Linked DNA regions of Homo sapiens: regions 1, 3 and 4 are each linked to region 2. Evidence: promoter capture Hi-C in human tissues and cell types (Jung and others, 2019). All regions are on one chromosome and are shown on one strand. The core of a region is centred on a gene start or on the middle of the fragment in contact, and the rest is flanking DNA. Distances in the headings are between cores, read along the strand shown. Region 1 overlaps CCNDBP1 (cyclin D1 binding protein 1). Region 2 holds the start of LCMT2 (leucine carboxyl methyltransferase 2). Region 3 overlaps TP53BP1 (tumor protein p53 binding protein 1). Region 4 overlaps MAP1A (microtubule associated protein 1A).

Region 1 (6,058 bases), core at 1,444-3,943, 130 kb before region 2:
GCTAGAATGCTTGCTGGATTGAAAGGGAGTGCCTATCTATATTTAGCAAGAGACACTATTACCAAAGATTGTTGGTTAGGCCAGATTGACACCTATTTATAAACCATATGCGTATATTTTTCTGTGCTATATATGAAAAATAATTGCATGATTTCTCATTCCTGAGTCATTTCTCAGAGATTCCTAGGAAAGCTGCCTTATTCTCTTTTTGCAGTAAAGTATGTTGTTTTCATTGTAAAGATGTTGATGGTCTCAATAAAATGCTAACTTGCCAGTGATTAAATGAGTGCCCTTCCAAAGTTTCTTTTTACCAGAAATACAGTGGATTGAGACTAGAACATTGCTTTCATTTGGGTTTGTAGGTTTAAAAATCTGATTCTAATCAGAAGTATATTTAGAACAAAACACTTTATTTATAAAAGATGACTCCAAAATTCATCTTAGTATTTCACCATGTTATATATTATTATCAGCAAGTCCTTCTGAATATTATCACAGATTACTCCATGTCTCTAAAATATATTGGCATTGAGCTCATTTGTTAGGTTTGCCCACCTTATTGAACAGATTTATTTTCCTTATACATACTTGTGTTGTCCTTGGTTACGTGTGTCCCCAAATGTAAATACCAAATTTTTATAAATCAAAAATTTTTTAGTGTGTAAGAGATTTTATGTAATTTTAAGGGCCTTTTCAGTTCATCCTTTTGCAAAACCATCACCACTTAATTATACTTTTGCATCAGTCTAGAAGACTGCATATTGGAAAGCAGTGTAAATCTATAATGATGTATATTCTGGTGAGCTGAATAGGGCATTATGCATGTCCTACAGGTCTCCGCCACCTCTCATGCCCATCATCTTCCTTTTGTAGGTGTAATTCATAACATATGCCTTTCTGCTGTCTTTAGGTATAATCAGCAACAGCAGTCATTCTTTGAGTGACTAATGTATACTTGGGGTTGGGGTTGAAATTCCTTAAGCCAAATGAGTTTTAGCTTACTGTTTTGAAGTGCCATTTTGTATTGTTAACAAGTGTCATGAAGGGAAGGAACTAAAATCAAACTGACAGAGTGTCAAGGCAACAAAATAACATAAACAAAATAATAACATTGTACAACAGTCTAGTTCTTTTATCCTTTCATATAGAGCCTATTTTTTATATACTTTTATATTTCTCTACTGGACCAAATTCATGTTATTAACATCAGACTTTAATTGTGGGATACTTAATGAATATAGAACTCTAATATAAAGACTTACCTCTAGCTGAATTATTCTCTCAGGTCCTGTATTGTATAACTTCGTTCAGTCATGTTTGGATCTTTAAGGATAATGATCAGGGAAAGCACTGATCAATGTAATTTTTTTTTTTTTTTTTTTTTTTTTGAGATGGAGTCTTGCTCTGTCCCCCAAGCTGGAGTGCAGTGGCACACTCTCGGCTCACTGCAACCTCCGCCTCCCAGGTTCTCAAGCAATTCTCTGGCTTCAGCCTCTCAAGTAGCTGGGACTACAGATGCACACCACCATGTCCAGCTAATTTTTGTATTTTTAGTAGAGATGGGGTTTCACCATGTTGGCCAGGCTGGTCTCAAACTCCTGACCTCAGGTGATCTGCCCACGTCAGCCTCCCAAAGTGCTGGGATTACAGATGTGAGCCACCGAGCCCAGCTTGATCAATGTAATTTTAAGATTACCTAAAAATTCCATTTTGGGATAATATCCCACTTCATCAGAAATATTAGAATGATTTAAGTGTTAGGTCCTTTCCCTTATCTGTAAGTTAATGAATGTATTAATGAGCAGTAAAATGGTTGCAAAAAACCTGAACCTGAACAATCTGAATGTACTCCTTAAAGGTATCTGAGCACCTTTTCAACCTGAATGACTACTCATTTATCTGATAAAGTGATGTAGTTTGGATATTCAACCCTGCAAACCTCATGCTGAAATTGGATTCCCAGTGTTGGAGGTGGGGCCTAATGGGAGGTGTTTGGATCCCTCATGAATGGCTTCGTTCCATTGGTGGGGTAATGAGTAAGTTCTCGCTCTATATGTCCCTCCCCCACCCCAGAGCTGGCTGTTAAAACGAGGCTGGCACCTGGCACTTACCCCTACCCCTCAACCCATTCTTGCCCTGTGATCTCTGCTCACGTTGCCTCCCTTCATCTTCCTGCATAAGTGGAAGCAGCCTGAAGCCCTCACTGTTTCTTGTACAGCCTGCAGAGCCGTGAGCCAAATAAAGCTCTTTTCTTTTAAACTACCCAGCCTCAGTTATTCCTTTATAGCAACACAAACACTGAGACGCAAAGTTTCTCTTCCTAGCACATGTTTGGTTTAGATTGTAGAACAAGGGTTGGCAGGAGAGTGGTGATAGAGCTGGAAGTTTAAGCTGATAGTTCAGGGGCTACCACGGTGACGCTTTTATAGTTGGTTAGGTTCTGGAACATGTTGCAGTCCACTTCCACAGTGAGTCTCTGGAGCCCCACATGTGTTGGCGTGAACTGGAACTTGGCACACATGGTGTTTTCAGGCCACACTGAACGGAATCTGAAATAAAGGAAAAGGCAGGTGCTAGTTCTGTCCCAGGTTCATTGCTCTGCTGGTCCCAGTGACTTTGATCCTTCCTTGCTTGAAGAGGTGGACCATGCAGAAATAAACATCTAAGTACCTTGCTATTAAAATGGAAGTGTTTATAAAGGAATAGAAGACAGGAGCCACCCAATGCTGAGCAACTGCATGGTTGAGAAGAGGTACATCCTAAGGGCTTCCAAGCTACATCTGTTGTTCCTTTTGTCATCTGTGACTTCCTTCTGGTTCAATTCCTGGTAATTGTATTGGAGTTTGTTTGGAAGAGTGATATGGTTTGGCTGTGTCCCCACCCAAATCTCAACTTGAATTCTATCTCCCAGAATTCCCATGAGTTGTGGAAGGGACCCAGGGGGAGGTAATTGAATCATGGGGGCTGGTCTTTCCTGTGCTATTCTCGTGATAGTGAATAAGTCTCAGGAGACCTGATGGGCTTATCAGAGGTTTCTGCTTTTGCTTCTTCCTCATTTTCTCTTGCCACCACCCTGTTAGAAGTGCCTTTGCCTCCTGCCATGATTCTGAGGCCTCCCCAGCCATGTGGAACTGTAAGTCCAATTAAACCTCTTTTTCTTCCCAGTCTCAGGTATGTCTTTATCAGCAGCGTGAAAACAAACAATACAGTAAATTGGTATGAGTAGAGTGGGGCATGGCTGAAAAGATACCCGAAAATGTGGAAGTGACTTTGGAACTGGGTAACAGGCAGAGATTGGAGCAGCTTGAAGTGCTCAGAAGAAGATGAAAATGTGGGAAAGCTTGGAACTTCCTAGAGACTTGTCGCATAGCTTTGCCGAAAATGCTGATAGCAATATGGACAATAAAATCCAGGCTGAGGTGGTCTCAGATAGAGATGAGGAACTTGTTAGGAACTGGAGCAAAGGTGACTCTTATGTTTTAGCAAAGAGACTGGTGGCATTTTGACCCTGCCCTAGAGATTTGTGGAACTTTGAACTTGAGAAAGATGATTTAGGGTATCTGGTGGAAGAAATTTCTAAGTAGCAAAGCATTCAAGAGGTGACTTGGGTGCTGTCAAAGGCATTCAGTTTTATAAAGGAAGCAGAGCGTAAAAGTTTGGAAAATTTGCAGCCTGACTATGCAATAGAAAAGAAAAACCCATTTTCTAGGGAAAAATTCAAGCTGGCTGCAGAAATTTGCATAAGTAACAAGGAGCCTAATGTTAAACCTGAAGATCAAGGGGGAAATGTCTCCAGGCCATGTCAGAGAACTTCATGGCAGCCCCTCCCATCACAGGCCCGGAGGCTCAGGAGGAAAAAGTGGTTTAGTGGGCCAGGCCCAGGGTTCCTGTGTTGTATGCAGCCTAAGGACTTGGTGCCCTGTGTCCCAGCCACTCCAGCCATGGCTGAAAGGGGCCAACATACCGCTTGGGCTGTGGCTTCAGAGGGTGGAAGCCGCAAGCCTTGGCAGCTTCCAAATGGTGTTGAGCCTATGGGTGCACAGAAGTCAAGAACTGAGGTTTGGGAACCTCTGCCTAGATTTCAGAATATCTATGGAAATTCTGGGGGCCCAGGCAAAAGTTTGCTGCAAGGGCAGGACCCTCATGGAGAACCTCTGCTAGGGCAGTGCAGAAGGCAAATATGGGGTCAGAGCCCCCACACAGAGTCCCTGCTGGGGCACTGCCTAGTGGAGCTGTGAGAAGAGGGCCGCCATCCTCCACACCCCAGAATGGTAGATCCACTGACAACTTGCACTGTCTGCCTGGAAAAGCCACAGACACTCAGCGCCAGCCTGTGAGAGCAACTGGGAGGGACGCTGTACCCTGCAAAGCCACAGGGGCAGAGAGAACTGCCCAAGACCATGGGAACCCACCTCTTGCATTATTGTGACCTAGAGTCAAAGGAGATCATTTTGGAGCTTTAAAATTTGACTGCCCTGCTGGATTTTGGACTTGCATGGGCCCTGTAACTCCTTTGTTTTGGCCAATTTCTCCATTTGGAATGGCTGTATTTACCCAATACCTGTACCCCCACTGTATCTAGGAAGTAACTAGCTTGCTTTTGATTTTACAGGCTCATAGGCAGAAGGGACTTGCCTTGTCTCGGGTGAGACTTTGGATTGTGGACTTTTGGATTAATGCTGAAATGAGTTAAGACTTTGGGGAACTGTTGGGAAGGCATGATTGGTTTTGAAATGTGAGGACATGAGATTGGGAGGGGCCAGGGATGGAATGATATGATTTTGCTGTGTCCCCACCCAAATCTCAACTTGAGTTCTATCTCCCATTCCTCATGGGAGGGACCCAGGGGGAAGTAATTGAATTATGGGAGCTGGTCTTTCCCATGCTATTCTTGTGATAGTAAGTCCCATGAGATCTGATAGGTTTCTCATGGGTTTCCACTTTCGCTTCTTCCTCATTTTCTCTTGCCACCACCATGTTATAAATGCCTTTCACCTCCCGCCATGATTCTGAGGCCTCCCCAGTCATGTGGAACTATAAGTCCCATTAAACCTCTTTTTCTTCCCAGCCTTGGGTATGTCTTTATCAGCAGCGTGAACACGAACTAATATAAAGAGCTATAGCTTTGGAACCCTTGCTTATTGCTAAGCACAGTGGATGTAGCAGGGCTTATTGAGAGGATGTCAGTATGTCAGCAGGTGGTGTTTGGAGCCTTGTCAGCAACCTCCTGGCCTGCCTATAAACCTTCTTTTGGTGACAGACTTCCTTTGGGGAGCTTTGCCCCACAACTGATTTGGGAGACCACAAAAGTATGGTTAAATGTTGACAGTCCCTTCTCTTGATTTCTTGGCAAGAATGTCTCATTAAGTTTCATGAGGCTGAGGCAGTGGCTCAGTAACCCACACACCTGTTAGGGACCTCAGGGAGGGTAGGAGTAAGTATCTTGAACTTTATACTGTCTGTTCAACTAAGGATGCAGTAGACATAATGAAAGAAGATATTTGCAACGTCTAAAACCAACAAGGGACTAATACCTGGACTATACAGGAAACTTCTACAGATCAATAAGAAGGAAGCACAGAAACACCAAAAGAAAAGTGGGCAAAATAAGACAAACTACTTACTGAGAAGAAAACATAAAAGGCTAACAAACATATGAAGAGTTGCAATTAAAATAATAGTAAGATATTACTTCATTTTTATTGGACTGGAAGAAAATGTTAATAGCTGGGTATTGCCAGGAATGAAGGAGGGGTAGGAATACAGAAATTCTCATGTGCTGCTGGAGGGAGTGGAGACTCTTGCAGCCATTCTGCAAATCTGACAGTACCTGGTCAAACCACATCATAGCCTAGGACCCAGCAATTCTATTCCTGGGTATATATCCCCAGACTCCACCAAATTTTTTTTTTTTTTTGAGATGGAGTCTCGCTCTTTCACCCGGGCTGGACTGCAGTGGCGTGATCTCGGCTCACTGCAAGCTCCGCCTCCCAGGTTCACACCATTCTCCTGCCTCAGCCTCTCAAGTAGCTGAGACTACAGGCGTCTGCCACTGTGC
Region 2 (5,441 bases), core at 62-2,561:
TCCCACAACTGCCTATTTGGCTGCCTTTCCATTCAGAGTCACAATCTCTTGAGAGCAAGTGAAACTGGCTCACTCGGCAGTGCCGCCCCTCCTGCTCTCCAAATCCTCCTGCACTGAGAATAACGTCTGGGCTCAAGAAGACAGAGGCGTGGCCATATCTCTTCAGGTTTGGGACCTGGCCCTCGCTACTGACTACGCTGGCAGGGAATACCCCTGAAGGCGAAGCAGGATTTACGCGAGGAAATGCCTCTGAGGATGGAAACACTAGGGTGTGGGAGAGGGTGTCTCCCCTAGAAGCTGCCAGAATGAAATAATGGGCGCACTTCAGATGCCACTCCTCAAATTCGTCAAAGGGTTCAATATTTTCCACCCGCCGGCGTTCTTCTGCGGGAAGAAAGCAGTGATAGAATTCATTCATGTCCACGGCACCGCAGGCGGTCCAGCCAGCTTGAAGGAAGCGGCGCCGCTGCGCCTCCACGTCAGGAAAACGCTCCAGGCCATGCAGGGGGGAGTTTAGCTGCCGAAAATGTTGCAGCATGAACTGGCCAAAGGCGTCTTGAGGCCTCATCTGCTCATAGACCACGAAAAGGGCATTAGGAAAACGCTGGGCTGCCCAGGCGATGAGGGCCGCGGCACTCTCCGGCTCGAGGTAGGTCAGCACCGCCTCGGCCAGGAGCAGAGTGGGTGAGGCTGCGTCGAGCCCCGCGGCGCCCAGGGCCTCCTCCACTCGCTGGAGCTGCCGCAAGTCCAGACCCAGGATGCAGTAGTCTGCGCTCTCAAAGCACAGCGCGGACGCGGGCTCCCCCCTCTCGAAAGGCCCGGTTAACGCGCACAGCTCTGGCGTCTCTCCAATCCTTTCTGCTTTGCGCCGCGCCACGTCCGGAAAATCCACCTCCCAGACTGCAGCCCGGGCCAGGCGGCCCGCGGTTTTTAAGCGAAAATAGAGCGAGTCGAAGCCAGCGCCGAGAGACAAGATCTGCGCGCGAAGCGCGGCCTGGGGCGCGCCAATCTGCTCCAAAAAAGCGCGCACGCAGTGCCTCACGGCGCGTGCGCGGACGTAGTAGCCTCGGTGAATGAGCGGTGCGCGGCGCGCCGCGCCCGGAACCAGCAACGCGGCAAAGGGGTCCTGCACGTACCCGCGCGCGGCCAGGGAACGCTTGCTGAGGGCGCTGCTGTCGTTGGTGTTCTGTACCGCGCCTGCCCGACGCTCACGGCTCCGGGGGCCCATGGCCAGAAGAGACTCAGGAATGGCAGTCTGTCACGGTTGTGAGCCGCCCCTTGGTTAGCACACACCTCACGGACCTCGGTAGGGGGAAAAAAACCACCCATGCTCCTGGACTTCCCCTTCCGCCGGCACTTGTGCGTCACTTCCGGGAAGAGCGCATCTCGCCAACCAGAATTGAGGAGGGTGTAGCCAGTGCTAAGTTCGCTTGCGGCTGACCTTTCTTTGGAATGTCGTGAGTTCCATTTGTCCCAGAATACGGTCCGCTACCGCTGTGACATGAGTGTTAGGGAAGGCGGGTTGTCACGTTTCTACAAGCCTTCCAGTCAAAAGGGAAACCTTGCCTAAGTCCTTGTAGTTGAGAAATCTCTAAGAGGTGAGTCTGTGGGGACTGACGACTTGGCTTCCTTGGACCGCCAAGGAAGGGTCTGGTAGGAGCCAAGAAGGGTCGGCACCACGGACCTTCAGTAGGCAAGGATTAGTTAGCTTCCTTGGGTGCTAATAGTTGCTGATTTATTTAATGCTCTCACAGTTGCAAAAGAGAACCCCATTTAAAACTTGAAAACAAGTCACTAAGGCCAGGGTGCAAACTGAAGAAACCGACCTTTACAAATAATTTATAGACACCTAACAAGAAGACGTTTCCCCACAGATAGTAGACTGTTGATTCCCTTGTATTCCCAGCCCTATGTTAGACTGACGGTGAATAAACCACTCAGCCTCTCTTTCTCATCACACCGCCTTGGAGAATTCTGTGGATTTTAAAGTAGTGTTGAATATGTCCCCAGAAAGGGGAGTCACTGAAGAGAGGTGATTGTTCCCTGTGATATGTTCTGAGCTTTGTTTTTAAGGAGTAAATCCAGGTTAGACTTCAGAATAATCATAAAGTTTCTAAATTGGGTGTCTGGGAGTCATCCATAGGAAACCACTTCCAGAGACATTTAGGAAATTTATCATTTGTTCACTGGGATTTGGTGACTGACTGGCTGAAATAGAAAAGGAAATCAGATAACTTTATGGTTAACTACAGGTGGTACTGCATAATGGTTAAGAGTGTGAGTTTTGGAGTCCAGCAGATTTGGATACTGGAGTCAAGAAAAAGTTTCGTATTTTCCAATGTTTTCTTGTGGAACAAAATGAAATAAGAAAGAAAAGGTTTGGATCAGGATAAAGATTCGGTAATTGAAAAGTGACATTTAGATTTGGTGTTTAAAAGCTCATTAATGGCCTTAGGGAGAGCAGTTTCTGTGGAGCAATAAGGGCAGAATCCATGTTTCAGTGAATAGGAGGTGAGTTAAAGGAGGTATCCAGTCTAAATTATTATACTTTCGAGGAGCTTAACTCAGAAGGAAAAAAGGGTCAGGGCAGTGGCTAAAGAATATTGTGGGATAAAAGAGTCTTTTGTTTTGTTTTCAGGTGGAAGCAAATACTGCACATGCGTGTTGGTCCTGTGAGGGAAACCAGCTAGTGGAGAGGGAGAGGTTGAAGGAACAGAAAAATGAGAAGACAACTCACTGGTAGAGTAACTTGGAATAGATAGAAATGGGATCCTGGGCACGTATTAGTTGTGGGGATAGGAGAATGAATCCTTTATCTGTGACTCCTGATGGGGTAAAAAAAAGATTATGGATAATCATAAGCTCAGGTGTGAGGTAGGGCAGAGAGAAAAAGAAGGAATTTGCACCTGATGGCTTCTGTTTTCTCTGTAAAGTTGGTGACAGAGTTGTCAGTTTAGTGTAAGGCATTCAGATCTGATGGAACATTTGAGCAGTTTGAGAATTGCTTCTGAAGGGATTAGAAGAAGGGCTCACCTATGCCTGCTGGGTCAGTGGATCCTCACCTCTAAAATGAGATTAAGTACTGCTTCGTGAGGTATCTCAGGGTTGATTGAGGGGCAAATAGAAAAAAAAAAAAAGTTGAAGGACTTTGAAAAATACGTAGCACCATAGAAACAAATTTATTTAATGACAGGTTCCTAAAATGTAGGTGTTATGTCAAAAATACTACTTGTTTTGCAAAGACCAGATCAAGAAAAGTAATTAAAGAAGAAAGAGAATGGAGTAAAATTTCTGATTTCGATGCCTTATGATTTAGGCCGGGGGAGGAGGGGCCATTGTTTAAATCTCAGTTTATTCTTATATAAAATGGGGATAATAATATCTCAGGGGTTGTTGTGAGGATTTAAACAAAATAACTATCTAAGACACCACAGTGCCTGGCTCATGGTAAGTGCATAATAAACAGTAACAAATTTTTTTTTATTCTGAGTTCCCTTTTGGGGGAGTAGGTGGGAGCATGAAAAAAGTTCCCTGGGAGACAGGATACTTGCTTCTGGCCCTGCTCTAATATTGATGAAGTATTACTAACGTGGATCTTATCCCAGTGTTTGTTGCCTTCCGTCCCAGAGCAAAACCAGTCCAGAAAAGTTAAATTTGTCATGGCATGCTGTTGTTGGTATCCATGTTTTAGGCAAGGAACAACAATTTTTTTTAATGTGTAAAGATTATGATTGCTTAGTTGCTTTTTAATTTCCATAGGTTAACATTGTAGCCAGTGGGTCAGTAAATTTACTCACAGCTAGTTAAAGGTCAGTCTGGAGGATGGTTTGAATGGGGCACAAATTAAGGTCAGGATCCTGGAGTAAAATTGAAAATCTGGCCGGGCGCAGTGGCTCGCTCCTGTAATCCCAGCTCAGGCTGGTGGATCACTTGAGCCCAGGAGTTTGAGACCAGCCTGGGCAACATGGTGAGACCCCGTCTCTACAAAAAAAATTTTATATAAAATTAGATGGGCATTGTGGTGCATGCCTGTGATCTCTGCTGCTTAGGAGGCTGAAGTGGGAGGATCGCTTGAGTCTGGAAGCTTGAGACTGCAGCAAGCTGTGATCGTGACACTGCACTCCAGCCTGGGCAACAAAGTAAGATCCTGTCTCAAAAGAAAAAAAAAAAAAGGTATGTTTTTCCATTTTAATTAAATCATTTATGTTTTTCGGTAGAGATATTAAATGCCATTGATTAAATAGTCCATCTTTTTCATTTTTTACTATTTATTAAGCACTTACTATGGCATTACTTTGAAATGCCATGTTTATCTCATACTAAGTAGGCCTTTCTATGGATTTCTATGGCTATGTTTAGTCCTATACAAACTACTTTCTTTATTGTACATTTTAATATCTTGGTAACTTATTTAACCCCACTCAGTATCAATTTATTGATTTTCAATACAGTAATATTTCACAAAGTTATTTCAAGGATTAAAGATAACATTATTAAAAGCGCTTGTCACATACCTGTTAGGTTCCAAATACATGGAAACTGTTATTCTTAAACATCATCCTCATTAATACGTGAGAACCCAGAGAGTCAAGGTGGCTAGTTTGAAAATCACTAAATTTCACTTGGAATTTTATCTTCACTTATAAACCACTTTCAGAAGTGAAGGGAAATTATGATTGATTTATCACCTACAGTGTGCTAGGCACTGTGCTAAGTGTTAGAGTGGTGGAATAATTCAAAGGACCTGTCCTCAAGGAACTTACAGTCTGGTGAGAGAGAAAGACAAGTATATCAGTGATTGAGATATCAGTGTGATTAAATGCTGAGTTAAAGGCAGTGACTGGCTCATGTGGGAACATAGATGAGGGGAATTTAAAATACTTTATTAATCGTCACTGCTACTTTGCATTTTTAATCCCATTTTTGTAAATAAAGAAACTGAAGCCATGAAGGTGAGTGACTAAGGCCACACAGCTTCTAACCTGTAGAGCTGGTAAAAGGACAAACCTAGGTCCATCTAATGCCAGCACCTCTGTTCTTCTTTTATATATTTTAAACAATTCAAAATTTAAAATTTTATTTTTGGCCGGGCATGGTGGCTCATGCCTGTAATCCTAGCACTTTGGGAGGCTGAGGCGGGTGGATCACTTGAGGTCAGGAGTTCGAGACCAGCCTGGCCAACATGGTGAGACCCTGTCTCTATTAAAAATACAAAAATTGGCCAGGTGTGGTGGCATGTACCTGTAATCCCAGCTACTTGGGAAGCTGAGGCAGGAGAATCACTTGAACCCAGGAGATAGAGGCTGCAGTGAGCTGAGACCATGCCAGTGTACTCCAGCCTGGGTGACAGAGGGAGACTGTCTCAAAAAAATTATATATATATATATATATATATATATATATTTTATCCAAAGTAGGCCTTATAAAATTTTGAATTTTTG
Region 3 (5,816 bases), core at 2,032-4,531, 150 kb after region 2:
TGACTCATGCCTGTAAGCCCAGCACTGTGGGAGGCCAAGGCAGGCGGATCACAAGGTCAGGAGATCAAGACCATCATGGCTAACACAGTGAAACCCCATCTCTACTAAAAATACAAAAAATTAGCCAAGCATGGTGGCGGGTGCCTGTAGTCCCAGCTACTAGGGAGGCTGAGGCAGGAGAATGGCATGATCCCGGGAGGCGGAGCTTGCAGTGAGCCGAGATTGCGCCACTGCACTCCAGCCTGGGTGACAGAGTGAGACTCCATCTCAAAAAAAAAAAAAAGAAAAAAAGAAAATGGCTAGTATCCATAATACTAAATTTACTGTATTAGCTATTCTTCACCATCTCATTTCCAAAAGAGAGAAAATTATGTCAAAATATTAAATGGAAATTATTCCCAAAAAGCCCTTCTCACTAATTACTAGAAACACGTTTTCCTTCCATATCACAAACAAGTCTGCAAACCTATAAAATGCTTTGTAACTTAACCAGTAGCCTCAGAACTAAAGTAAAAGTTTAGATCTTTGGAGAAGAGCTGTAACGACAAATCACTCTTGGTACCTGTTTTATTGCTCTGGTCAAACAAGTCTTCCTGAGTTGACAAAACCTCAGGCTCTGGTGACTTCTGAATCTGCAGTCCACTTTCCATAAGTTCTTGTGCAGACAACTGTTCTTTTGCTTCCATAGCAGCAACAGATGCTTTGGGGCTAAAAGGCATGTCCTCTGACCTAGGAAATTCATATCACCAGGAGAAAAAGTTCCTAAGTTCAAATGTTTTTAAATAAAAAGCTTTTCCTGTTTTGTGTGTTTTTCTTTAATAATTTCAAAAATTCCAGTGGCTCTAATTTACATAATTATATATTAAAAAGGAAATAAACTACTCTTTATAGTGATAAAAGTCCTCAGCCCATTTTAAAACCTGTCTCACTCTCTCTCACAGCCAATACCTGTCTTCAACTCTGCTCAATACTGTGCTTCATGCTTTCTAAGATTTCTGATGAGTAACTTGGGGAATTTTTGTTACATATAATGTTATCTAGACCTGTATAAAGAATTCTGATCCAGACCCCAATGATGCCAGTAAGGAGAACAGTCCAAACCATGACATTCCATGGAAAGCATTTGATGTCAATTATCCTCCTTACTAGTGCCACACACATCTTCTGCTGACCTTTTCCATTTGATGTACCCAAACCCCAAACCAATTCTCCTTCAGATCAATACTAACATGTATAAGACATTCATCCCTGGCCCCTTTCCAGAGACTTATGAGGTTCACCTGTTCTACCACTCCCCAGGGTAAACAGAATAGCATAACTAGATGGAAGGCAGCATCTAAAAGAAAAGCCTAAAAAGTCACTGTTATGCTGAGTGTTTTACATTAGAAAGACAATTTCTCTTGATATTCAACTTTGCTTAGGACACTCTCTCCCCACTCTTTCCATTGAAGGAAATAACAAAACAATACTGTTTATTTATCCCCTATCCCAAACTGGAAGCATCCCAGTTTTCTTCTGCCATATTCAAACTTCACTTACTGGCCAGAGGTAATGAAGCTTTGGTTATAAAAATCACGAGAGATGAAGCAGAGGCACATTCCCCAATTCCTACCAAGTTAAGAGCCTAAAGAACCTGAGAAAATCCCTACATCTATCGATACCATAAAATACCAGATGCAGGATACCTAAGAACCCAAAGCAATCTGGGTGCTCCTCAAGTATAGAAACAGTAGGCTTTCAAATAAAATAGTCATGTTACTCTTCATAACACCAGAGAGGCTAAGAAGACCTCCCACAGACAAGCAGTGTCTCTGTAGACAAAGATCACAAAGGAGGAGTGGCAACCAAAGATTACGGAGTCATGCTTATAGTTAGAGCAGCCTTAAAACATCATTGCAGGCTAGGCAGAGTGGCTCACGCCTATAATCCCAGCACTTTGGGAAGCTGAGGCAGGAGGATTACTTGAGCCCAGGAGTTCGAGACCAGCTTGAGCAACATAGCGAGACTCCATTTCTACAACAAAAAAATTTTTTTAATCAACAAAAAAAGGTCTTTGTAGAATGCCTAAAGATAAGATTAGTAGTCAAGTGTGGCCCCAGTACTTGGGAGGCTGGGGCAGAGAATCACATGAGCCCAGGGCAACATAGTGAGACTTTGTTTCAAACAGACAGACAGACAGACAGACAAAAAACAATTCTTGAGACTTCATAAATAATCAACGTTTCCAATGGACCACAAGTATGCCCAGTACAAGGGGAAAATAATTTAAAAATCAACAATTTCTAAAAATGTTTTCATCTGGTAAAATGACATTAGTATAACCCTACAGCAAAACTCGTAAATCCTTTTTAGAAAGTTCGGCTTACCTTGCAGGTGGTGGATTTTGCTCTTTTACAACATGTACATCCTTACTGGGCTGTGCTGTCACAGGGATGTCCTTGCTGGACTGTTCTGCTATGGGGATATCTTCGTTGGACTGTTCTTCATGCTTAATTGCTGAGAGTTTTATAAAATGACAGGAAGGAGATAATTAAGTTTTCAAAATACTAGATACAGTCCCAGATGTTTTTTAAAAAGCAAAGATTTTAACAGAAGTCCAATTTAAAATATATACAGGCATCAGTCTATAAAGGAAAGTAACCAATAACTTAAAACCTCAGCCCACAAACCAACAATTGACAAGTATTTACCAGAAAACTCTTCAACCTTACTAAATTACTTAGATTATATTAATTTGGATAGCTGCAAAACTTATCAAAGAAAAAATAACTACCTCTAATATGGGAGAAAACACAACAACTCCAAATGCCAGAAAACATGTTTCATACCAGTATTAGCATCCACATCAGACAGCCTGGTATAACCAGAGTTGGTGGTTACTGATTGTAGCTGCTCTTTGTCCACTTCATATGGCACAGTATTTTCCTCAACATCCTGGCTCTGGGAGAGTTCCAGAACCCCAAAACCCAACTGTGATGAGGCAGTATCTAGGAACAAAATGCCAAGAAATTAGGTATCATCCCACAACATTATGCAATGTACAAGCTGCTGTCCTCAGCAAAGGAGGGTCCCGTTAAGTCCTTCACATCAAAGCCCTGTGCACCCCCCAAATTTTTCAAAAATAAAAAATAAATGTGGCCGAGCACGGTGGCTCACACCTATAATCCCGGCATTTGGGAGGCCAAGGTAGGTGAATCACTTGAGGTCAGGCGGTCAAGACCAGCCTGGCCAACATGGTGAAACCCCATCTCTACTAAAAATACAAAAATTAGCCAGGTGTGGTGGCGCACACATGTAATCCTGGCTACTCGGGAGGCTGAAGCACAAGAATGGCTTGAACCCAGGAGGCGGAGCTTGCAGTGAGCCAAGATTGCGCCACTGCACTCTAACCTGGGCAACAGAGCAAGACTCCGTCGCAAAAAAATAAAAAATAAATTTAAAAAAAATAAGTGCATTAAAGATGAAGGGGGAAAATGTGTAATAAAGTAAAAATACTTCATACTATAAAATCTTATAAGGAGACTACGTCTGCTTTCTAAAGGTACATCATAAACTACACCCACAGTCACAGCAATTCAGACTGTACTTACACCCCACAAAGTACACATTACAAAAATATTTGAAAAACAAATGAATACAAGAGGAAGAAAACTCAATATGCAGAAAGGGGCTAACCAATGAACTACAAATTCCTGAATACCAAATCAGGTGGAACATTTTAAATTACTAGCAAATTTCTTAATGACTCTCAATTTAATTATGAGAAATCTGCAACCTAATAAAGAGGAGAAATTTAGACATCTGCACAATCATGTTAAAGGGAAGTTAGAACAGTCTATTATTCTGAAAAAAGCACAAGGCTACCTTCAGCACCAAGGGAATGTGTAGTATTGCCTGAAGTATCTTCTTCCTTCTCTTTCTCCTTCTGTTCCAACTCTTCTCCCTTCTCTTCCTCCACAGCAGGAGCAGATTCCACTGACATTCCCAGAACACTACACAGCAGAAGGATATAATCATGTGTTCCCAGATAGTTTGGGACACTTTAATCAGAGCACTCTGACCCCCAACACATACCAACCATCTCTTAGCCAAACTTGAAAAAGTAAAATACCTCACCTTTATAGTGCTTCTTTCTACAAAAAGCACCTAAAAGATTAACAATTCAACATCCTACACAGAATTAAGTAAAGAAAAAATAAGGCACCAACATACTCGAATTTTATATTTTTGAGAAGAGGCAGAAAAATCTTGCATTCAGGAGAATTACTGACAAGTGACAAGAGAAGATATGCATTGGATGAGCACAGAAAGGGCTCAAAAAACTTTTTAAAAGTTCACAGAAGTATTTTAGTAAAAAATCTTAAAATACATATATAGAACCACAGAGTCCAAACAAAATTCAGGTAAGGAGCTTATATATGTATATAAATACACACACACACACACACACACACACACACACTTTTTATTTTTTACTTATTTTTTTTTTAAGAGACAGAGTCTGGGCCGGGCACAGTGGCTCACACCTGTAATCCCAGCACTTTGGGAGGCAGAGGCAGGCAGGTCACGAGGTCAAGAGATCGAGACCATCCTGGCTAACATGGTGAAACCCCGTCTCTACTAAAAATATAAAAATTAGCTGGGTGTGGTGGCATGCGCCTGTAGTCCCATCTACTCAGGAGGCTGAGGCAGGAAAATTGCTCGAACCCAGGAGGCGGAGGTTGCAGTGAGCCGAGATCGCGCCACTGCACTGCAGCCTGGTGACAGAGCGAGACTCTGTCTCAAAAAAAAAAAAAAAAGAGAGAGACAGAGTCTGTCTCCCAGGCTAAAGTGCAGTAGCACGATCACAGCTTACTGCAGCCTTGAACTACTGGGCACAAGCAAACTCCATATATTTTTAAAATAAGTTAACACCGACCAGGCACGGTGGCTCACGCCTGTAATCCCAGCACTTTGGGAGGCCAAGGAGGGCGCATCACGAGATCAGGAGATCGAGACCATCCTGGCTAACATGGTGAAACCCCATCTCTACTAAAAAATACAAAAAAATTAGCTGGGCGTGGTGGCAGGTGCCTGTAGTCCCAGCTACTCAGGAGGCTGAGGCAGTAGAATGGCGTGAACCCGGGAGGCAGAGCTTGCAGTGAGCCGAGATCGCGCCACTGCACTCCAGCCTGGGCGACAGAGCGAGACTCCACCTCAAAAAACAACAACAACAACAACAACAACAACAAGAAACAACCTATAAATTCAGCATTAAGGAAATGATTACATAATTTCACAATCTATTAATAACATATATCACCGTTAAAAATGTTTGAAACAAGGCCAGGCGCAGGGGCTTATCCCTGTAATCCCAGCACTTCGGGAGGCCGAAGTGGGCGGATCATTTAAGGTTAGTTCAAAACCAGCACGGCCAACATGGTGCAACCCCGTCTCTACTAAAAATACAAAAATTAGGCTGGGCGCGGTGGCTCATGCCTGTAATCCCAGCACTTTGGGAGGCCGAAACAGGCGGATCACAAGGTCAGGAGATCGAGACCATCCCGGCGAACAAGGTGAAACCCTGTCTCTACTAAAAATACAAAAAATTAGCCGGGCGTGGTGGCACGCACCTGTAGTCCCAGCTACTGGGGAGGCTGAGGCAGGAGAATTGCTTGAACCTGGGAATCGGAGGTTGCAGTGAGCCAAGATCACGCTACTGCACTCCAGCCTGGGAGACATGGCGAGACTCCGTCTCAAAAAAAAAAAAATTTAACCAGTGTGGTGTCATGTGCCTGTAGTCCCAGCTACTTGGGAGGCTGAAGCAGGAGAATCGC
Region 4 (5,212 bases), core at 1,163-3,662, 200 kb after region 2:
CCATGCAGCCACAGCGTCACCTCCCACAGATGGGACAACTCGATACTCTGCACAGACAGACATCACAGATGACAGCCTTGACAGGAAGTCACCTGCCAGCTCATTCTCTCACTCTACACCTTCAGGAAATGGGAAGTACTTACCTGGGGCGATCACAAGCCCTGATGAACACATTCTGACACCTGATAGCTCCTTCTCCAAGAGTCCTGAGTCTTTGCCAGGCCCTGCCTTGGAGGACATTGCCATAAAGTGGGAAGATAAAGTTCCAGGGTTGAAAGACAGAACCTCAGAACAGAAGAAGGAACCTGAGCCAAAGGATGAAGTTTTACAGCAGAAAGACAAAACTCTGGAGCACAAGGAGGTGGTAGAGCCGAAGGATACAGCCATCTATCAGAAAGATGAGGCTCTGCATGTAAAGAATGAGGCTGTGAAACAGCAGGATAAGGCTTTAGAACAAAAGGGCAGAGACTTAGAGCAAAAAGACACAGCCCTAGAACAGAAGGACAAGGCCCTGGAACCAAAAGACAAAGACTTAGAAGAAAAAGACAAGGCCCTGGAACAGAAGGATAAGATTCCAGAAGAGAAAGACAAAGCCTTAGAACAAAAGGATACAGCCCTGGAACAGAAGGACAAGGCCCTGGAACCAAAAGATAAAGACTTGGAACAAAAGGACAGGGTCCTAGAACAGAAGGAGAAGATCCCAGAAGAGAAAGACAAAGCCTTAGATCAAAAAGTCAGAAGTGTTGAACATAAGGCTCCGGAGGACACGGTCGCTGAAATGAAGGACAGAGACCTAGAACAGACAGACAAAGCCCCTGAACAGAAACACCAGGCCCAGGAACAAAAGGATAAAGTCTCAGAAAAGAAGGATCAGGCCTTAGAACAAAAATACTGGGCTTTGGGACAGAAGGATGAAGCCCTGGAACAAAACATTCAGGCTCTGGAAGAGAACCACCAAACTCAGGAGCAGGAGAGCCTAGTGCAGGAGGATAAAACCAGGAAACCAAAGATGCTAGAGGAAAAATCCCCAGAAAAGGTCAAGGCCATGGAAGAGAAGTTAGAAGCTCTTCTGGAGAAGACCAAAGCTCTGGGCCTGGAAGAGAGCCTAGTGCAGGAGGGCAGGGCCAGAGAGCAGGAAGAAAAGTACTGGAGGGGGCAGGATGTGGTCCAGGAGTGGCAAGAAACATCTCCTACCAGAGAGGAGCCGGCTGGAGAACAGAAAGAGCTTGCCCCGGCATGGGAGGACACATCTCCTGAGCAGGACAATAGGTATTGGAGGGGCAGAGAGGATGTGGCCTTGGAACAGGACACATACTGGAGGGAGCTAAGCTGTGAGCGGAAGGTCTGGTTCCCTCACGAGCTGGATGGCCAGGGGGCCCGCCCACACTACACTGAGGAACGGGAAAGCACTTTCCTAGATGAGGGCCCAGATGATGAGCAAGAAGTACCCCTGCGGGAACACGCAACCCGGAGCCCCTGGGCCTCAGACTTCAAGGATTTCCAGGAATCCTCACCACAGAAGGGGCTAGAGGTGGAGCGCTGGCTTGCTGAATCACCAGTTGGGTTGCCACCAGAGGAAGAGGACAAACTGACCCGCTCTCCCTTTGAGATCATCTCCCCTCCAGCTTCCCCACCTGAGATGGTTGGACAAAGGGTTCCTTCAGCCCCAGGACAAGAGAGTCCTATCCCAGACCCTAAGCTCATGCCACACATGAAGAATGAACCCACTACTCCCTCATGGCTGGCTGACATCCCACCCTGGGTGCCCAAGGACAGACCCCTCCCCCCTGCACCCCTCTCCCCAGCTCCTGGTCCCCCCACACCTGCCCCGGAATCCCATACTCCTGCACCCTTCTCTTGGGGCACAGCCGAGTATGACAGTGTGGTGGCTGCAGTGCAGGAGGGGGCAGCTGAGTTGGAAGGTGGGCCATACTCCCCCCTGGGGAAGGACTACCGCAAGGCTGAAGGGGAAAGGGAAGAAGAAGGTAGGGCTGAGGCTCCTGACAAAAGCTCACACAGCTCAAAGGTACCAGAGGCCAGCAAAAGCCATGCCACCACGGAGCCTGAGCAGACTGAGCCGGAGCAGAGAGAGCCCACACCCTATCCTGATGAGAGAAGCTTTCAGTATGCAGACATCTATGAGCAGATGATGCTTACTGGGCTTGGCCCTGCATGCCCCACTAGAGAGCCTCCACTTGGAGCAGCTGGGGATTGGCCCCCATGCCTCTCAACCAAGGAGGCAGCTGCCGGCCGAAACACATCTGCAGAGAAGGAGCTTTCATCTCCTATCTCACCCAAGAGCCTCCAGTCTGACACTCCAACCTTCAGCTATGCAGCCCTGGCAGGACCCACTGTACCCCCAAGGCCAGAGCCAGGGCCAAGTATGGAGCCCAGCCTCACCCCACCTGCAGTTCCCCCCCGTGCTCCTATCCTGAGCAAAGGCCCAAGCCCCCCTCTTAATGGTAACATCCTGAGCTGCAGCCCAGATAGGAGGTCCCCATCCCCCAAGGAATCAGGCCGGAGTCACTGGGATGACAGCACTAGTGACTCAGAACTGGAGAAGGGGGCTCGGGAACAGCCAGAAAAAGAGGCCCAATCCCCAAGTCCTCCTCACCCCATTCCTATGGGGTCCCCCACATTATGGCCAGAAACTGAGGCACATGTTAGCCCTCCCTTGGACTCACACCTGGGGCCTGCCCGACCCAGTCTGGACTTCCCTGCTTCAGCCTTTGGCTTCTCCTCATTGCAGCCAGCTCCCCCACAGCTGCCCTCTCCAGCTGAACCCCGCTCGGCACCCTGTGGCTCCCTTGCCTTCTCTGGGGATCGAGCTCTGGCTCTGGCTCCAGGACCCCCCACCAGAACCCGGCATGATGAATACCTGGAAGTGACCAAGGCCCCCAGCCTGGATTCCTCACTGCCCCAGCTCCCATCACCCAGTTCTCCTGGGGCCCCTCTCCTCTCCAATCTGCCACGACCTGCCTCACCAGCCCTGTCTGAGGGCTCCTCCTCTGAGGCTACCACGCCTGTGATTTCAAGTGTGGCGGAGCGCTTCTCTCCAAGCCTTGAGGCTGCAGAACAGGAGTCTGGAGAGCTGGACCCAGGAATGGAACCAGCTGCCCACAGCCTCTGGGACCTCACTCCTCTGAGCCCAGCACCCCCAGCTTCACTGGACTTGGCCCTAGCTCCAGCTCCAAGCCTGCCTGGAGACATGGGTGATGGCATCCTGCCGTGCCACCTGGAGTGCTCAGAGGCAGCCACGGAGAAGCCAAGCCCCTTCCAGGTTCCCTCTGAGGATTGTGCAGCCAATGGCCCAACTGAAACCAGCCCTAACCCCCCAGGCCCTGCCCCAGCCAAGGCTGAAAATGAAGAGGCTGCGGCTTGCCCTGCCTGGGAACGTGGGGCCTGGCCTGAAGGAGCTGAGAGGAGCTCCCGGCCTGACACATTGCTCTCCCCTGAGCAGCCAGTGTGTCCTGCAGGGGGCTCCGGGGGCCCACCCAGCAGTGCCTCTCCTGAGGTCGAAGCTGGGCCCCAGGGATGTGCCACTGAGCCTCGGCCCCATCGTGGGGAGCTCTCCCCATCCTTCCTGAACCCACCTCTGCCCCCATCCATAGATGATAGGGACCTCTCAACTGAGGAAGTTCGGCTAGTAGGAAGAGGGGGGCGGCGCCGGGTAGGGGGGCCAGGGACCACTGGGGGCCCATGCCCTGTGACTGATGAGACACCCCCTACATCAGCCAGTGACTCAGGCTCCTCACAGTCAGATTCTGATGTCCCGCCAGAAACTGAGGAGTGTCCGTCCATCACAGCTGAGGCAGCCCTCGACTCAGATGAAGATGGAGACTTCCTACCTGTGGACAAAGCTGGGGGTGTCAGTGGTACTCACCACCCCAGGCCTGGCCATGACCCACCTCCTCTCCCACAGCCAGACCCCCGCCCATCCCCTCCCCGCCCTGATGTGTGCATGGCTGACCCCGAGGGGCTCAGCTCAGAGTCTGGGAGAGTAGAGAGGCTACGGGAGAAGGAAAAGGTTCAGGGGCGAGTAGGGCGCAGGGCCCCAGGCAAGGCCAAGCCAGCGTCCCCTGCACGGCGTCTGGATCTTCGGGGAAAACGCTCACCCACCCCTGGTAAAGGGCCTGCAGATCGAGCATCCCGGGCCCCACCTCGACCACGCAGCACCACAAGCCAGGTCACCCCAGCAGAGGAAAAGGATGGACACAGCCCCATGTCCAAAGGCCTAGTCAATGGACTCAAGGCAGGACCAAGTAAGTATATCATGAAACTTGGCAGAGAGTGTGGGTTAGGGCTGGGTGTGGGCTGGTCAGACTTCAGGAGTGGGACAGAGGGGAAGGTTGCCAAAAGGGTTCTACTTTTCCTCTACAATGAATCCTGGCTTGTCTCTACAGTGGCCTTGAGTTCCAAGGGCAGCTCTGGTGCCCCTGTATATGTGGATCTCGCCTACATCCCGAATCATTGCAGTGGCAAGACTGCTGACCTTGACTTCTTCCGTCGAGTGCGTGCATCCTACTATGTGGTCAGTGGGAATGACCCTGCCAATGGCGAGCCAAGCCGGGCTGTGCTGGATGCCCTGCTGGAGGGCAAGGCCCAGTGGGGGGAGAATCTTCAGGTGAGTAGCAAAGGACACCAAGGAAGTAGTCTGGTCAACGCTCACTCAGAGGCAGTAGTGGAACACAGTCCCTATTTATTAAAGGATGGGCCTTTTCTAAGGGCAGCAGAGCTGCTTCTGAGACCATGAGGTGCCCCTTCCCCCTCACCTACCTTCCCTTTATGTTCTCACATCAGACATATCTTATCTCCCTTCTAGGTGACTCTGATCCCTACTCATGACACGGAGGTGACTCGTGAGTGGTACCAACAAACTCATGAGCAGCAGCAACAACTGAATGTCCTGGTCCTGGCTAGCAGCAGCACCGTGGTGATGCAGGATGAGTCCTTCCCTGCCTGCAAGATTGAGTTCTGAAAGAGCCGCCCTCCCTTCCCCAAGGATCCACTCCCCCAGCTCCTTTAGAGAATGGCTACTGCTGAGTCCTTTGGGGTTGAGGGAGATGGGAGCTAGGGGGAGGGGAGGGAGATGTCTTGTTGTGGGGACTTGGGCTGGGCTAAATGGGAGGGGTTGTCCCTCCCCATCATCCATTCCTGTGAGGTGTCTCAAACCAAAGTTAACAGGGAGAGGATGGGGGAGGGGACAAATTAG

Evidence for each region. Contacts are between HindIII fragments. The study calls those that stand out against the background at their distance.
Region 1: a contact is called between a fragment that was not itself captured here and the fragment with the promoter of LCMT2 in region 2, in 1 of the 25 tissues and cell types used here (lymphoblastoid cells).
Region 3: a contact is called between a fragment that was not itself captured here and the fragment with the promoter of LCMT2 in region 2, in 1 of the 25 tissues and cell types used here (spleen).
Region 4: a contact is called between a fragment that was not itself captured here and the fragment with the promoter of LCMT2 in region 2, in 1 of the 25 tissues and cell types used here (mesenchymal stem cells).

What each region holds. Positions count from the first base shown.
Region 1 is chr15:43,194,916-43,200,973 of GRCh38, forward strand. CCNDBP1 (cyclin D1 binding protein 1) reads left to right here. Exons shown (of 11, transcript NM_012142.5): 11 at 1-2,262. EPB42 (erythrocyte membrane protein band 4.2) reads right to left here. Exons shown (of 13, transcript NM_001114134.2): 13 at 2,312-2,549. The coding sequence ends at 2,387. Among named protein-coding and RNA genes, the nearest start is that of CCNDBP1, 13 kb to the left of the region's middle. The HindIII fragment of the contact is 7,230 bases long and covers 1-6,058 here.
Region 2 is chr15:43,329,262-43,334,702 of GRCh38, forward strand. It overlaps LCMT2 (leucine carboxyl methyltransferase 2), which reads right to left and starts at 1,312. Exons shown (of 1, transcript NM_014793.5): 1 at 1-1,312. The coding sequence starts at 1,228. It overlaps MAPDA (N6-Methyl-AMP deaminase), which reads left to right and starts at 1,411. Exons shown (of 13, transcript NM_001324366.2): 1 at 1,411-1,598; 2 at 2,639-2,739; 3 at 4,050-4,173. RefSeq lists enhancers at 1,220-2,170, 1,403-1,452. The HindIII fragment of the contact is 18,030 bases long and covers 1-4,801 here.
Region 3 is chr15:43,477,031-43,482,846 of GRCh38, forward strand. TP53BP1 (tumor protein p53 binding protein 1) reads right to left here. Exons shown (of 28, transcript NM_001141980.3): 5 at 3,865-3,992; 6 at 2,829-2,987; 7 at 2,367-2,496; 8 at 563-729. Among named protein-coding and RNA genes, the nearest start is that of TP53BP1, 13 kb to the right of the region's middle. RefSeq lists a silencer at 174-415. The HindIII fragment of the contact is 7,884 bases long and covers 1-5,816 here.
Region 4 is chr15:43,525,247-43,530,458 of GRCh38, forward strand. It overlaps MAP1A (microtubule associated protein 1A), which reads left to right. Exons shown (of 6, transcript NM_002373.6): 4 at 1-4,262; 5 at 4,404-4,624; 6 at 4,823-5,212. The coding sequence ends at 4,978. Among named protein-coding and RNA genes, the nearest start is that of MAP1A, 10 kb to the left of the region's middle. RefSeq lists enhancers at 2,468-3,100, 4,082-4,582, 4,583-5,083. The HindIII fragment of the contact is 5,634 bases long and covers 1-5,212 here.